2 separate regions of the Homo sapiens genome follow, and region 1 is linked to region 2. The links are contacts of gene promoters, found by promoter capture Hi-C in human tissues and cell types (Jung and others, 2019). All regions are on one chromosome and are shown on one strand. The core of a region is centred on a gene start or on the middle of the fragment in contact, and the rest is flanking DNA. Distances in the headings are between cores, read along the strand shown. Region 1 overlaps RBM47 (RNA binding motif protein 47). Region 2 holds the start of CHRNA9 (cholinergic receptor nicotinic alpha 9 subunit).

Region 1 (6,744 bases), core at 3,694-6,193, 150 kb before region 2:
GTCTCGTTTACTGTAGCTTTGTAGTAAATTTTGAAACCTGGAAGGGTGAGTCCTTGAGCTTTGTTCTTCTTTTTCAAGTTTGTTTTGGCTATTCTGGGCCCCTTGAATTTCTGTAGGAATTTTAGTATCCATTTATCAATTTTTTTTCCCAGAAACTAGCTGAGATTTTGATGGGAATATTGTGTTGACTCTGTAGATCAGATCGAGGAGTATTGTCATTTTAGCAGCGTTCAGTCTTCTATTCATGAACAAGCAGTGTCTTTCCATTTATTTAGATTTTTTTTCTCTCTTTTTTTTTTGAGACAGAGTCTCACTTGTCAGGCTGGAGTGCAGTGGCGCGATCTCTCCTCACTGCAACCTCCGCCTCCCGGGTTCAAGTGATTCTTATGTCTCGGCCAGGCGCCACCACGCCCGGCTAATTTTTGTATTTTTAATAGATGGCCTAGATCTTTGATTTCTTTGAACAATGTTTTGTAGTTTTAACACTTGTATTATTTTTGATGCTATTGTAGATGAAATTGCTTTGTTAATTTTATATTTTAGTTTGTTCATTGCTAGTAGATAGAAATTTATAATTGATTTTTCTATATTGCTTTTATGTCCTGCAACCTTGTTGAACTTGATTATTAGTTCTAATAATTTTTTAATGGATTCCTTAGGTTTTTTACATGTAATTGACTACGTCATCTATGAACAGAGTTTTATTTCTTCCTTTCCCATATGGATCCCCTTTCTTTCTTTTTTTTTCTTTTTCCTTTTTTTCTATTTATCCTGGCTAGAAACAAGTACAATGTTGCATATAGAAGTTGAGAGAGTGCAAATCCTTGTTGCTGTTCTTCATGGGGAGAGCATTCAGTCTTTTTCACATTAAGTGTATTAGTCATGGGTTTTTTGTAGATGTTATTTATCAGATTGAAGAAGTTCCCTTCTGCTTTAATATGTTGTGTTTTAGTTATGAAGGGTTGGTGCATTGTATCAAATGCTTTTCTGGCAGCTATTCAGATTACTGTGTATAGTTTTTGTCTTTTGTTGATATGGTGTATTGCACTGATTGATTTTCATCTGTTAAGCTATCTTGCATTTCTGGGTTAAATCAGACTTGGTCATGTTGCTGAATTCAGTTTATTAGTATTTAGTTGTGTATTTTTAAAAAGTCCATATGCATAAGACATATTGATTTGTCATTTTCTGATAACTTTGTCTGTATTTTCTATGCATGTAATACTGGCCTCAGTGGGAAGTGTTCTAGTCCCTTCTGTTTTTTGGAAGAATTTGTGAAGGATTGGTGGTAATTAGACTTTAAAACATTTGATAGAATCCTCCAGAGAAGTCATCTGTTCTTGGGCTTTTCTTTGTGGAAAATTTTTATGTTACAAATTCAGTGTATTTACTTATAAGTCTATTCAGATATTCTATTTCTTCTTGAGTCTATTTTGGCCCTTTGCATCTTTCTAGGAATTTCTCCTCTACATGTAGGTTATCTAATTTGCTGGCATATAATTGTTCATAGTATTTCTTTGCTATCCTTTTTATTTCTAGAAGGTCAGTAGTGTTGTCACTTCTCTTATCCCTGAGTTTAGTAAGTTGAGTCTTTTCATTTCTTTGTCATTCTAGCTAGTGGTTTGTCAATGTTGTTGCTCTTTTCAAAGAACCAACTTTTGGTTTTATTAACTTTTATTTTGTTTTTATAGTCCGTATTTGCTTTATTCCCACCTAAATCATTATTATTTCCTTCCTTAATCTGTTTCAGATTTATTTTGCCCTTCTTTTTTCTGGCTTCTTAAACTGAAAGCTTAGATTGTTTACTGTATTTTAACTGTTATCTCCATTCCCCCAAGCTCCATTTTACAGGACAGTTTGTGAGTATGAGTGACCAATGCTGAAACAGTCAGGGCATGCAAACTTTCTCCTTTGGGGACAGAGTTACAGGGCAACTGAATACATGAGGGGGGCATACAGAGTACAGTTGACACAGCTGTTTCATTATGGTGCAGTCCATATAGCATTGTGATTCTGGGGCAAAAACTTGGGCTCTGGGGTTTGGGAACCTGGATATGAGTTCTACATCTGCCACCTAATAGTTGTGAGACTTTGAACACTTATTTAATCTTTGTAAGCCTCAGTCTCCACATCTGCAAAATAGCAGAAAGATAATTAGTACCTCATAGGATTGTCGTGAGGATTAAATGAAATAGCATATGTGAAGCACCCAGAACTGGTGGTAACAACTGTTCAATAAAGATTAACTATTCTAATCTGGTTGTTGTTGTTAGGTCAGATGGGCCTTTGCTGAGTCAACTCCATGTAAAGTAGCTACAGAGCTTGTTGTTGTGTTTCCATTAGTTTGTACCTCTTTGCCAACCATCTATGAACTCTCCTGTATGTACTACCAGGGTGGACCTCACCTGCATTTGCTACCAGGTGCTGAGATACACTTCTCACTTGCGGTTGCAAAGCTCAGGATGTTATTTCCAAATGAGCTCTTTTCTCAGACCAATTGCCGGCCTTGCTTATTTGATCATCCACCCATATTACAATGATGATATGAGAACAAATGAAGGTATGAGAAGAAAATATTTTCCTAAACAAATTTGAGGCATGCTTGGGGTGGAAGTACCATAAATTATGAAAATGGTGCGCACTGAAAAGTTCTAATTTTCATTTTATAGCGTCTCAAGTTCTCCCCCTTCCCCCCCACCCTTTTTTTTTTCTTTTGAGACAGAGTCTCGCTCTGTCACCTAGGCTGGAGTGCAGTTGTACAATCTCGGCTCACTGCAACCTCTGCTCACTGCAGCCTCTGCCTCCCGGGTTCAAGTGATTCTTGTGCCTCAGCCTCCTGAGTAGTGGCGATTACAGGTGCGCACCACTACACTGGCTAATTTTGTAGTAGAGGCTGGGTTTCACCATGTTGGCCAGGCTGGTCTTGAACTCCTGATCTCAGGTGATCCACCTGCCTTGGCCTCCCAGAGTGCTGGGATTACAGGTGTGAGCCACCGTGCCCAGCCTCTCTCTCTCTTTCTTTCTTTCCCTCACCCCTAACTCTTATTAATCCCTTTCATCAAAAGCTTCACTAAAGAACAGAAAGGATGTGCGTTCCGTTTTTTTCCCTCCTCTGGCCCTGTAGGTGCAGAGAAATTACAAAATACTAGGCTATACATAGGGGAAAAGTAAGAAAAATTCATTAGCATATAAATTGATAACCAGCTTTCTTTGGTCTATCCATCAACATGAATTTTATCCAAGTAGATTTATTTTTTTGGAAGACTAAATTTAGTGTGAATAATCAATAATATATTAATAACAATTAAATTTGATTTATCTCTTCATACTTGGGGCTTGCCATTCTTATTCTTTGTGTAGCTATGCTTACGAAGTGTTATGCCAGGACGTGAAAGGTGAGCACAGAGGGGTGCCTAGTTGACTGTCTGGTTTTTGATAAAAAAAGAAATGATGAGGCCAAGCATGGGGGCTGACGCCTGTTATCCCAACAATTTGGGAGGCCAAGGTGGGTGGATCACTTGAGGTCAGGAGTTCAAGACCAGCCTGACTAACCAGGTGAAACCCTGTCTCTACTAAAAAATACAAAAATTAGCTGGGCATGGTTGTGCACACCTGTAGACCCAGCTACTCAGGAGGCAGGAAAATCACTTGAACCTGGGAGGTGGAGTTTGCAGTGAGCCGAGATCGCGCCACTGCACTCCAGCCTGGGCGACCGAGTGAGACTCCATCTTTAAAAAAAGAAAAGAAAAGAAATGATGATGTAGAGCTGAAATTACCAACATCATCAGATGGAGGAGTCCTTGAGGAAATCTGAGTTCCCAAGATGCCAATTCCTTTGGGGTCTTTTTTGTTGCTTTCGGTTCCATCTGCCAATCCCCATGAAGGCTCCACTGAGTCTAAAAGAGCTAACAGATGACCCTTGACCATCCTAAGGTTGCTCATTGTGTCTGTCCCTCTTGGGGGAGCACAGAGAATAATTTTTTGTGGCTACTGAAATCTTAGGACTCTTCCAGTTTAAGTAAGTCTTAAAGAAATACTGGCCTTGACTTTAGGATCCAAAATAAACCTGAATCCTTGTGAGTGTCTAGACAACAACTATAGAAAACAGCAACAATCAGAGATCACCTGACAGTTAAGAACTGGCTAAAAATGTTTGCACATTACCAAGATCAAGCAACATATAAATTACCCAGAGACATAGAATGAATGTTGCATAAATGCCTTTGTTATTAAACAGGATGTGTGCTCTGTTGAATCATAGTTACATGGGGGAAGTCCTCCTGCCTGAACTTCTAAATTTATGGGAATCACAGTCAAGGTTGCTCAATCCATGTGCCCTCTACCCAACCCTCACCCCATTTCCTCTAAAGATCCTCTACTGGGGGTAAGATTTTACAACTTCCATTTAAATCTGTGATGGGGTTTCACCATATTGACCAGTCTGGTCTCGAACTCCTGACCTCAAGTCATCACCCACTTTGGCCTCCTAAAGTACTGGGATTACAGGCATGAGCCACCACACCCAGCCCAAATTTAAAAATTTTTGCTGATATAGTAGGACTCACTGTTTCGATTTCTATCTATTTTAATCAGACAAAGTTTGATTTGAATAGAGTTGAACTATTTTCATGTTTATTCATCATAGAATCTTGTTTTTCTGCAAACTGCCTGCTGATATCTTTGCTCGTATGTATTGTGTTGTATTTTTTTGTTGATACGGAAGCACTCTGGCATATTAAGGAAATTGGCTCTTTAATGACACACTCCTAATTGTAGTTTGTCTTTGATTTTGTTTTAATAAATGTTTTAAAATTCCATTTAATGCTCAGTTCTTGGAAAAAGGAAGAGTGATTGGGACCAATGTTTAGTTCAATTTGAAATTCAGATAAATAATCAGTTTCTTCCTTAGCTACTGTATTTAGTTTCTAAACTCTTCACACTAAGCTCTTTTTTTTTTTTTTTTTTTTTTTTTTTTGAAACAGGGTTTTGCTCTGTTGTCCAAGCTAGAATGCAGTGGTCCAAATATGGCTCACTACAGTTGGAGCTTCCGGGCTCAAGCAGTTCTCCCACCTCACACCCCCAAGTAGTTGGGACTACAGGCGCATGCCACCATGCCTAGCTAATGTTTGTATTTTTTTTTTTTTTTTTACACAGATGGCCTTTTGCCATGTTGCCCAGGCTGGTCTCAAACTCCTGGACTCAAGCAATCCGCCCACCTCAGCCTCCCAAAATGCTAGGATTACATGAGTGAGCCACCCTACCCGGCCTATTTTCTCTTTATAACAGTATATTCTCATATTAATGTGTTGTCCCAATTTTTAAAATTGTCTATTTGAGTAATTATCCAGAATCATGACTGACACTACCATTTTCATTAATACTTTAGATCAAAGTAATTCTCACTTAATTCTTATAGTAATTTCACCTGACACTTGGGGACTGGTAATTTTAGCATTGGTGTTTCTAAAAACATACTGTGATAAGCTGCTCCATCACCATGTATTTGGTTTCTTTGTCTATAAAACTAAAGCCAGAGAAATGAGGTGCTTGACAAAGCATTGAGGTGTCAAGGGGCACATACAGATTTCAAATTGGAATCCTGGAACAAACATGGTAGGAGAACAGAAGAGGGTCCCATCTGCATATTCTTACTGCTTAGATAAAGCAGCTGTCGACTTGGCTTTCCTTTATCCTGACTTTCCAGAGTTGTTCACCAAACAGGTAACAAGATTGAGCTTTAAGTCTTTATTTCATATTGATTCTTCATAAATTAAATTATCTTATGACTTATGGCTCCATGTTGTAAGTAAAAAGTCATTTGACCAACTGTTTGGAATTCTTGTCAATAACAATTATTGAGCACCCATGTTAGTGAATTTCTGTGTGTGTGCACTGGGTGGTGAGAAAAGGTTGAGAGCAAATACCTTGGGTATACTTTGTAAGGAACCATGATCAGCTTGTCATGCAAACATATGACAACTGTGCAAACATTTTTTACAAGAGACAGTCTTAACAAAAACAAAAAAGAAAAAGAAAACAAACAAAAAAAAAGAGACAATCTTAAACTTTGTGTATAAGCTTTAATTTTCAAATGTAGAATCAGAAGCATTGCTGTTTAGGCAATGTTGTGATGAAACAGGAATCAAATTTGATCCCAAATGACAAATACACAATTGCCAAATATCTAGAAAAGAAGAAATGCTGAAGTGGTGTGGCAGTGAGTAAAGTTGTGTTGAGAAAGATAGATACCTGGATAAAAAAAATCCTTTTGGAGGAAGGTGATTCTAGAAGAGAGTTACAAAGGAAAATAAGAATCTGGTAGATAGAGAAGGAAGGAAGGTAGTCTTGGAGATTTTGTGTGTAGCTGTGTATCTGTTGAGGTTGAAGGGAACAAAGGGAAATTATGCAGTGATTTGTCATCATAAGTTAACCAGAGATTTGCAGCTCATGATCAAAAGCCTGCAATGTTATGGATGACCAAGGATCACCTCAAATTCCCTTCATGGGAGTAACATGATCCCAACCATACCTAAGGAAAATGGTTCATCCTACTGCTTTCAGGATGGTTAGCAGGGAAAGGTGTCAGCTAGGAAACCCAATGGGTGGGGGTGGGAGGTTGTGCATGGTTAGTGCTGAACTAAATCAGGAAGAAAGGAAAAGAAAGGAATTGGCAGAATGTAATGATGGGTCGAAATGGAGAGAATGAGGGACAGAACAAATAGGTTCGTTTTATCAAATCATTAA
Region 2 (6,393 bases), core at 1,478-3,977:
TTGTGTCCCTGAAAAATTCACATATTGAAGTCTTAGCCCCCAACACTCAGAATGTGACTTGATTTGAGAATAGTATCATGAAGATGTAATTAGTTAGGTTAAGATGAAGTCACGCTGGAGTAGGGTGGACATCTAATCCAATATGGCTGGTGTCCTTATAGAAAGGGGAAATTTGGACACAGGGAACACACAGGAGAATGCCATGTGAAGATGAAGGCAGAGCTCAGAGTGACGCTTCTATAATGCCAAGAACACCAAAGACTGCCAGCAAACCACCATTAGCTAGAAGAGAGGCCTGGTACAGATCCTCCCTCACAGCCCTCAGAGGAAACCACGCTGTCAACCCCTTCATCTCAGGCATCTCAACTCCAGAACTGTGAGATAACACATTTTTGTTAAGTCATCTAATCTGTGCTACTCTGTTATGGCAAAGTTAGCCCTAGCAAACTAATGCAGCCTCCACTTTCCCACCTGAAAAAGGGGCATGTAGATGGATGGTTTCTTTCCAGCTCTAAGCTTTTATGACATATTATTTCCTGATCTAAGATTCTATGTCTCTTATTTCAGTAAGTCCTAGGAACATGGATTAATATTTAATTTCATGCATGTTTTAAACATTCCTTTTTCATTATGTTTAAATTCTATGAAATCAACACGTTCATGCCTGAAAAGCCTCAGTTCTGAGCTGCACTTACTTGTTATATAAGACGATGTCTGGCCTCCACACGAGGTCACTGGGGATCCTGATGGAGTCTAGGCCATCGTACTGATCTCGGTCCCACGTGAGATAGGCATCGTGCCAGATTTGGCGGATCCACAAATAAGCAGTCAGAATTTGGTTTCTTTCATCCTACACAATGAATCCAGATGTCGCTTTACCTAGCAGACACTTGAAATGTTTTCCACTGATAGGACACTTGTTCTTCACAATAGGAATTTCACAAACACTCATCAAATTTCAATAAGTAAAGTGAGAGCTTTATTCTTTATTTATTCTATCCCCTTGATTGACTGCCAAGATCATATTTTTTTTCCTCCTAGATTTAGTGTTCAGAATGTAAAGTGGACAAATATTTTAGTATTGATATCTTTGCATAGATCAACTGCCTATATTTCCTGAAAATTGATCAATGAATGATGTACTTGAAAGCAAAAGTCAGGAAATAACAATGTGCAGAAGGAAAATCTTTCAAGTTTCATAACATTGTGTAATTAAACATAGATAAGCACTAATAAGCTATGCCATCTTAAAACACTACCTTTTTTAAAAAATTGAGATTGGCCGGGCGCGGTGGCTCATGCCTGTAATCCCAGCACTTTGGGAGGCCGAGGCGGGCGAATCATGAGGTCAGGAGATTGAGACCATCCTGACTAACACGGTAAAACCCTGTCTCTACTAAAAATACAAAAAAAAAATTAGCCGGGTGTGGTGGCGGGTGCCTGTAGTCTCAGCTACTCAGGAGGCTGAGGCAGGAGAATGGTGTGAACCCAGGAGGCAGAGCTTACAGTGAGCGGAGATCATGCCACTGCACTCCAGCCTGGGTGACAGCAAGACTCCGTCTCAAAAAAAAAATTAAGATCAAATTCACATTAAAACTCACCATTTTAATCATTTTCGAAGGGAACAATGCACCGGCTTCCAATATATTCACAACGTTGTGCAACCATCACCACTGCCTAATTCAAGATCATTTCTTCCCCCCGCAAAGAAACGCCGTAATCATTAAGAACTCACTGGCCGTTTTCCCCGTCCTCCCCACAGACCCCGGCAACCTCTATGCCGTTTTCTGTCTCTACGGATTTACCTCTTTTGGACATTTTATATAAATGGCTGCATACAGTATGTAACCCCATCTTTCTTTAGATTATCTAAGACTGTTACAGTTAATGACCAGGATTAGGTAACGTTTCTTGAAATTAATTAGTTTTGTAGAAAGCTTCCTTTTCCCGACATTCTCTTCTCCCACCAGCTTGCTTAAGGAGCTATCATTCCCTCTCAAATTCCCAGTTAAGACATTCTCTTCAGAAAGCATGGTTGTTTATCCTCTAAGAATCATTCCACAGAGTCAGCACCATGTGTTACTCACCATATCCTTAATCTGAGAGAGCGTAATCTGCAGGGTCACATTCAGGACTTTATCTGTATCTTCCACTGGACGAAGAGCATTAGAATAATCTTCAAAAAGGTCATTAAACAACTTCTGAGCATATTTTCCATCTGCCGTCTCTGCAGCTACTCAACAAGAGGGATCTGGATTAACATTCAGAGTGTTGTGTGTATTTCAAGACAAACAACACAAGACTGAGGTCTAAAATGGGGGATGGCCCAACACTGGCGAGGGACAAGCTTTGGGTGGATGGATGAGTTGTTTTTCTGGCATGCCCTACCAAGATCAGAGTCAGTAGGAAGCACAGAACACTTCCATGCGGTTGAATCATCTGTTTTGTCTTCCCTGTCCTGCCCCACCTCCCACCAAAGCAATAGCCCCAGATGAGACAAGATAGGTTACGTGTCACCAGCCTCTCACCTCTCAGTCTGGAAGCAGCAAAGTAGATCCAGCAAAAGGAGATGCAGGAATGGGACCAGTTCATCTTTTTCCTGAGCCTCTATAATAAAGTCTCAGTCAGGCAGCGTGGTCTTCCACTTCCCCCTATGAATACAAAGGATCTGGGCACAAGGAGCCCACACCGCTGCAGCCTTATGGCGGGAGAGCTCAGGCTTGCATTGCATGCAGGACCGAGATCCTGAGATCCAGGCCTGCCCTCCCTCCCCTCCGGTAATTTGAGACTGGCAGCTCCAGTGGCTGAGAAGCCGGGAACCCAGGGTGTGTTAGGTCCAACAGTGCTGTTGTGGGGGGCCATCTCAGTTGAGGGTCCCTAGCCACCCTCAGCAGAAACAACCAGACAGAAAAGGAGGTAGATGCAGGCAACAGGGGTATGCCTGACACCCCAGAGACTCCATCTAAGCAGAATGGGAGATTTCTACACCCACCATGAGCAGAGTCAGCCTGAGTCCAGGGACTAAGGGAAGCCTAAAAGACTGAGCCATGGGACGGCTGTCCAGAAAGACTCTACGTGCTTTTAGCAGCATTTGAAGAGGGAAAGAGACACGGTTCTATGATCTCCAGAATATATTGGCATTTTGGTTTTTTCTCTGCCTCAGCTTCTGATCCCTCCTGCAGCTGTCCCACTGGGCATGGATCTTGCATAGTAAATGTTTGTGAGTATATATGTGAGGGGGTGTGCTGGATGGGCGGATAATCACTCGCTTAAGAAGCAGCAACACTGTGAGTTGGATTTGGACTTGACCACCTGGGTTTGACTGCCAGCCAAACCCTGACGAGCTCTATTATTCTGTAAAAGTCACCTAACCTCTCTGAGCCTTCCAGAACTACAGACTGGGGAAAATAATATTTTCTCTCTCTAGAGCTACTGAGATAACTGTATGTGAAAGCACTTTCTAAATATCAGTAATTATCATCTTTGATCAGCTTTGCATACCCAGAATTTCTATACTCACCAAGTCACCCAGGATTTACCAGCTCGAAAAAAAAAAAGAAAAACTGGTTCAAAGGCTGACCAAATCAGCATGAGAATAATAACCAATGGTGATATTGCTAATGATGACACCCTTTGCATTTGAATGCTACTTCATATAAAGTTTCAGTCATTTCTCATATGTGATATAATTTTACTCCTATAAAAAAATGTCAATTTTCAATTGCTGCTTAGTCTGGAAACTCATGTCTGTCTCTCCTCTTGCCTGGGGAAACTGCTTTGGAAAACCATATTAAGATAATTTGGTTGCCTGGAATTGGAGCGAGGAAATTGGATAGCTCTGTTTCATCAGGTTACAGCCGCCTGATGAGTCACCCCATCCCTCTTCGGGAATGTATCCTCTGAGTGGAACAGACACTCAAGCCATCGGCAAAGTGTTTCTTAATTGCCTATCCCATTGTGTTGATTGTGAAGACATTATTTTTCTGACGCCCCTAGTCTGACTCATTCATCAAATGACACAATTCCGGGTGCCCACGCTCAGTCCTCCTTCAGCAAACCATCCGCTCCAGAATCTCAGAGGCAGAAGGTAATTTTGAAATTGAGTTTAATGCCTCACTTCTATATGAGGAAACTGAGGCCCAGGGATGCAGAGTGGCTTCCCTCCAGCAGTGATCGGCCAGAGACAGGATCCAGGCCACCTGCCCCAATCCACTGTGCTCCCTGCAACACTAACAATGCATCTCTTCCTTCTCGTTGTCTTTCATCAATATGGCTTTTGATGCCAGCTGGGTGGTGACTTCCTTGTGTGTAGAGGATCTTTACCTCATATGTCTTGGATTCCTTACAGCACTCACAGGGTTGAATTGTAGTTGACACAGGGCCTACCTTGAATGGTGTCCCTTCCCTTCCTATACCACTCCCCTCCCTTCAGGGTCCCTTCTCCCCTCAGGGGCCTCTTTTAGGTTGAAGCTGCTGAGAACCTTTGCCCATTGGGGTCCAGTGTCCTGGGGGGCATCCCTGACTCCATTCCAGGAGGATGATGGCAGTGCTCCCATTCCTTAGAATAGAGTCCTGTCTGACAAAGAATCCTAGTGAATTCTATGGCTAAAATATCCTCTGCCCAGCAGCAGAGTGGGGATGGGAAGAACAAATACCTTCATTCTGCTACATGTGTTTTTTAAAACAAAAATTACAAGAGTCAAACATCATGTTTTGCAAAGGATTTTTTCCCTGCAAATGAATATGGCATGAATATTTTCTCCATTTCATTAAGTACAGGATCAGAGCACTTCTAACCTGTAAAGAGCTCTTTGAGGACCATCTAGCTAAGGTCACTCATGTTACAGATAAAGAAACTGAGGACTAGAGAGGTCAGAAGCCTTCGCAAGGACATAACCCATCGTCCTGACTCAATACAGTGCTCCTTACACAACACCAGTTCATCTGGTGAGGAAGCTCAGAGGAAATCAAGGTCAAGTGTGCCTTTAGGAGGCTTGGGAATGCACTTCCTTTCAGCCAAGGGCAGGTGGGACTTCGATCTGCCCCACAGGAAGGTGGGTAAAGGATGCTGACTCTCCACCAAGAACCATGCCAGAGACCCTCAACCTCCCCAGGAGGCTGGGCTCTTCACAGAGGAGTGCTGTCCTAGGCACTCAGAGCCATGACGCATGCTAACCAATGCTTCACAACTCACTGAAATGGCAGGAGATACCTCAATGGGATGCCATCCCCAAGGACCTATTTCACTTCTACTTTCTAAATTTGCTGGATTTATCCTAGATATGTGTCTTGAAAAACAAACAAACAAAACAAACAAACAAAAAAACCCCCTCAAAGCTCCTTTAAAAGACAGCTACATGAATTCCTTCACCTTGCACCAGAGTTTAGGATAAGATTGGTAGTTAGGACGCAAAGTCATGCCAAAAGGGCTGCCCATGGCACCACTCTCCAAACATTTTAGGGTTTACTTCTGTCTTTGTTTTCTATTTCTTCTTCTTTTTTTTTTTTTTTTGAGATTGAGTCTTGCTCTGTTGCCCAGGCTGGAATGCAGTGGCGTGATCTCAGCTCACTGCAACCTCCACGTCCTGGGTTCAAGCAATTCTGTGCCTCAGCCTCCCAAGTAGCTGGTATTACAGGCACCTGCCATCACGCCCGGCTTTTTTTTTTTTTTTTTTTTTTTTTTTTTTGTATTTTTAGTAGAGATGGGGTTTCACCATCTTGGCCAGGCTGGTCTTGAACTCCTGACCTCGTGATTCACCTGCCTCAGCCTTCCAAAGTGCTGGGATTACAGGTGAGTCACCATGCCCAGCCACTTCGTATTCTTGATCAAAAGCAGTATAATGTAGAGTTTAAGAGCACAGACCCTGGAGTTGAACTGCTTGGATTCAAGTCCAACCCCACCACTTACTAGCTGTGTAAGCTCAGCCAGATTATTCGACCTCAGTTTCTTCATCTATAAAATGGGGACAATTATAAATAGTGCCTACCTCTTGGGGTTGTTTTGAGGACTGAATCAGTTAATGCATGTGGAACCCTAAAAATAGTGCTTGACCATAAAATTGCTGGATAAATGATCATTAAAGGGGAAAATGACATGCTAAGCATGTCATTTGTAGCTCAATGCCACTATTTGTTTATTTATATATTTATTTATTTAATTTATTTATTTTTCCTCCCCTCTTCCTCTCCCCCTTCCATCTCTCTCCCTCACCCAATCTCTCTCCCAACTTCTTGACAGACCTGGTTAGAGGATAATTGTTTTATGTGACAAGCAATTTGTACTGTGGGTGGAAGAATATCAGTCCTACTATTTTCTTGTTGTCCTTTTTTATTGTGATGTTAATATTATTGTCAGTCCACCGTGGATTTATTTATTTACTTACTTATTTCTGC

The links. Contacts are between HindIII fragments. The study calls those that stand out against the background at their distance.
Region 1: a fragment that was not itself captured here is called in contact with the fragment with the promoter of CHRNA9 in region 2 in 1 of the 25 tissues and cell types used here (IMR-90 fibroblasts).

What each region holds. Positions count from the first base shown.
Region 1 is chr4:40,484,301-40,491,044 of GRCh38, reverse strand. The region is part of intron 2 of RBM47 (RNA binding motif protein 47); the gene reads left to right. Among named protein-coding and RNA genes, the nearest start is that of MIR4802, 14 kb to the left of the region's middle. The HindIII fragment of the contact is 5,027 bases long and covers 2,430-6,744 here.
Region 2 is chr4:40,331,667-40,338,059 of GRCh38, reverse strand. It overlaps CHRNA9 (cholinergic receptor nicotinic alpha 9 subunit), which reads right to left and starts at 2,727. Exons shown (of 5, transcript NM_017581.4): 1 at 2,529-2,727; 2 at 2,088-2,233; 3 at 696-850. The coding sequence starts at 2,592. The HindIII fragment of the contact is 10,503 bases long and covers 2,143-6,393 here.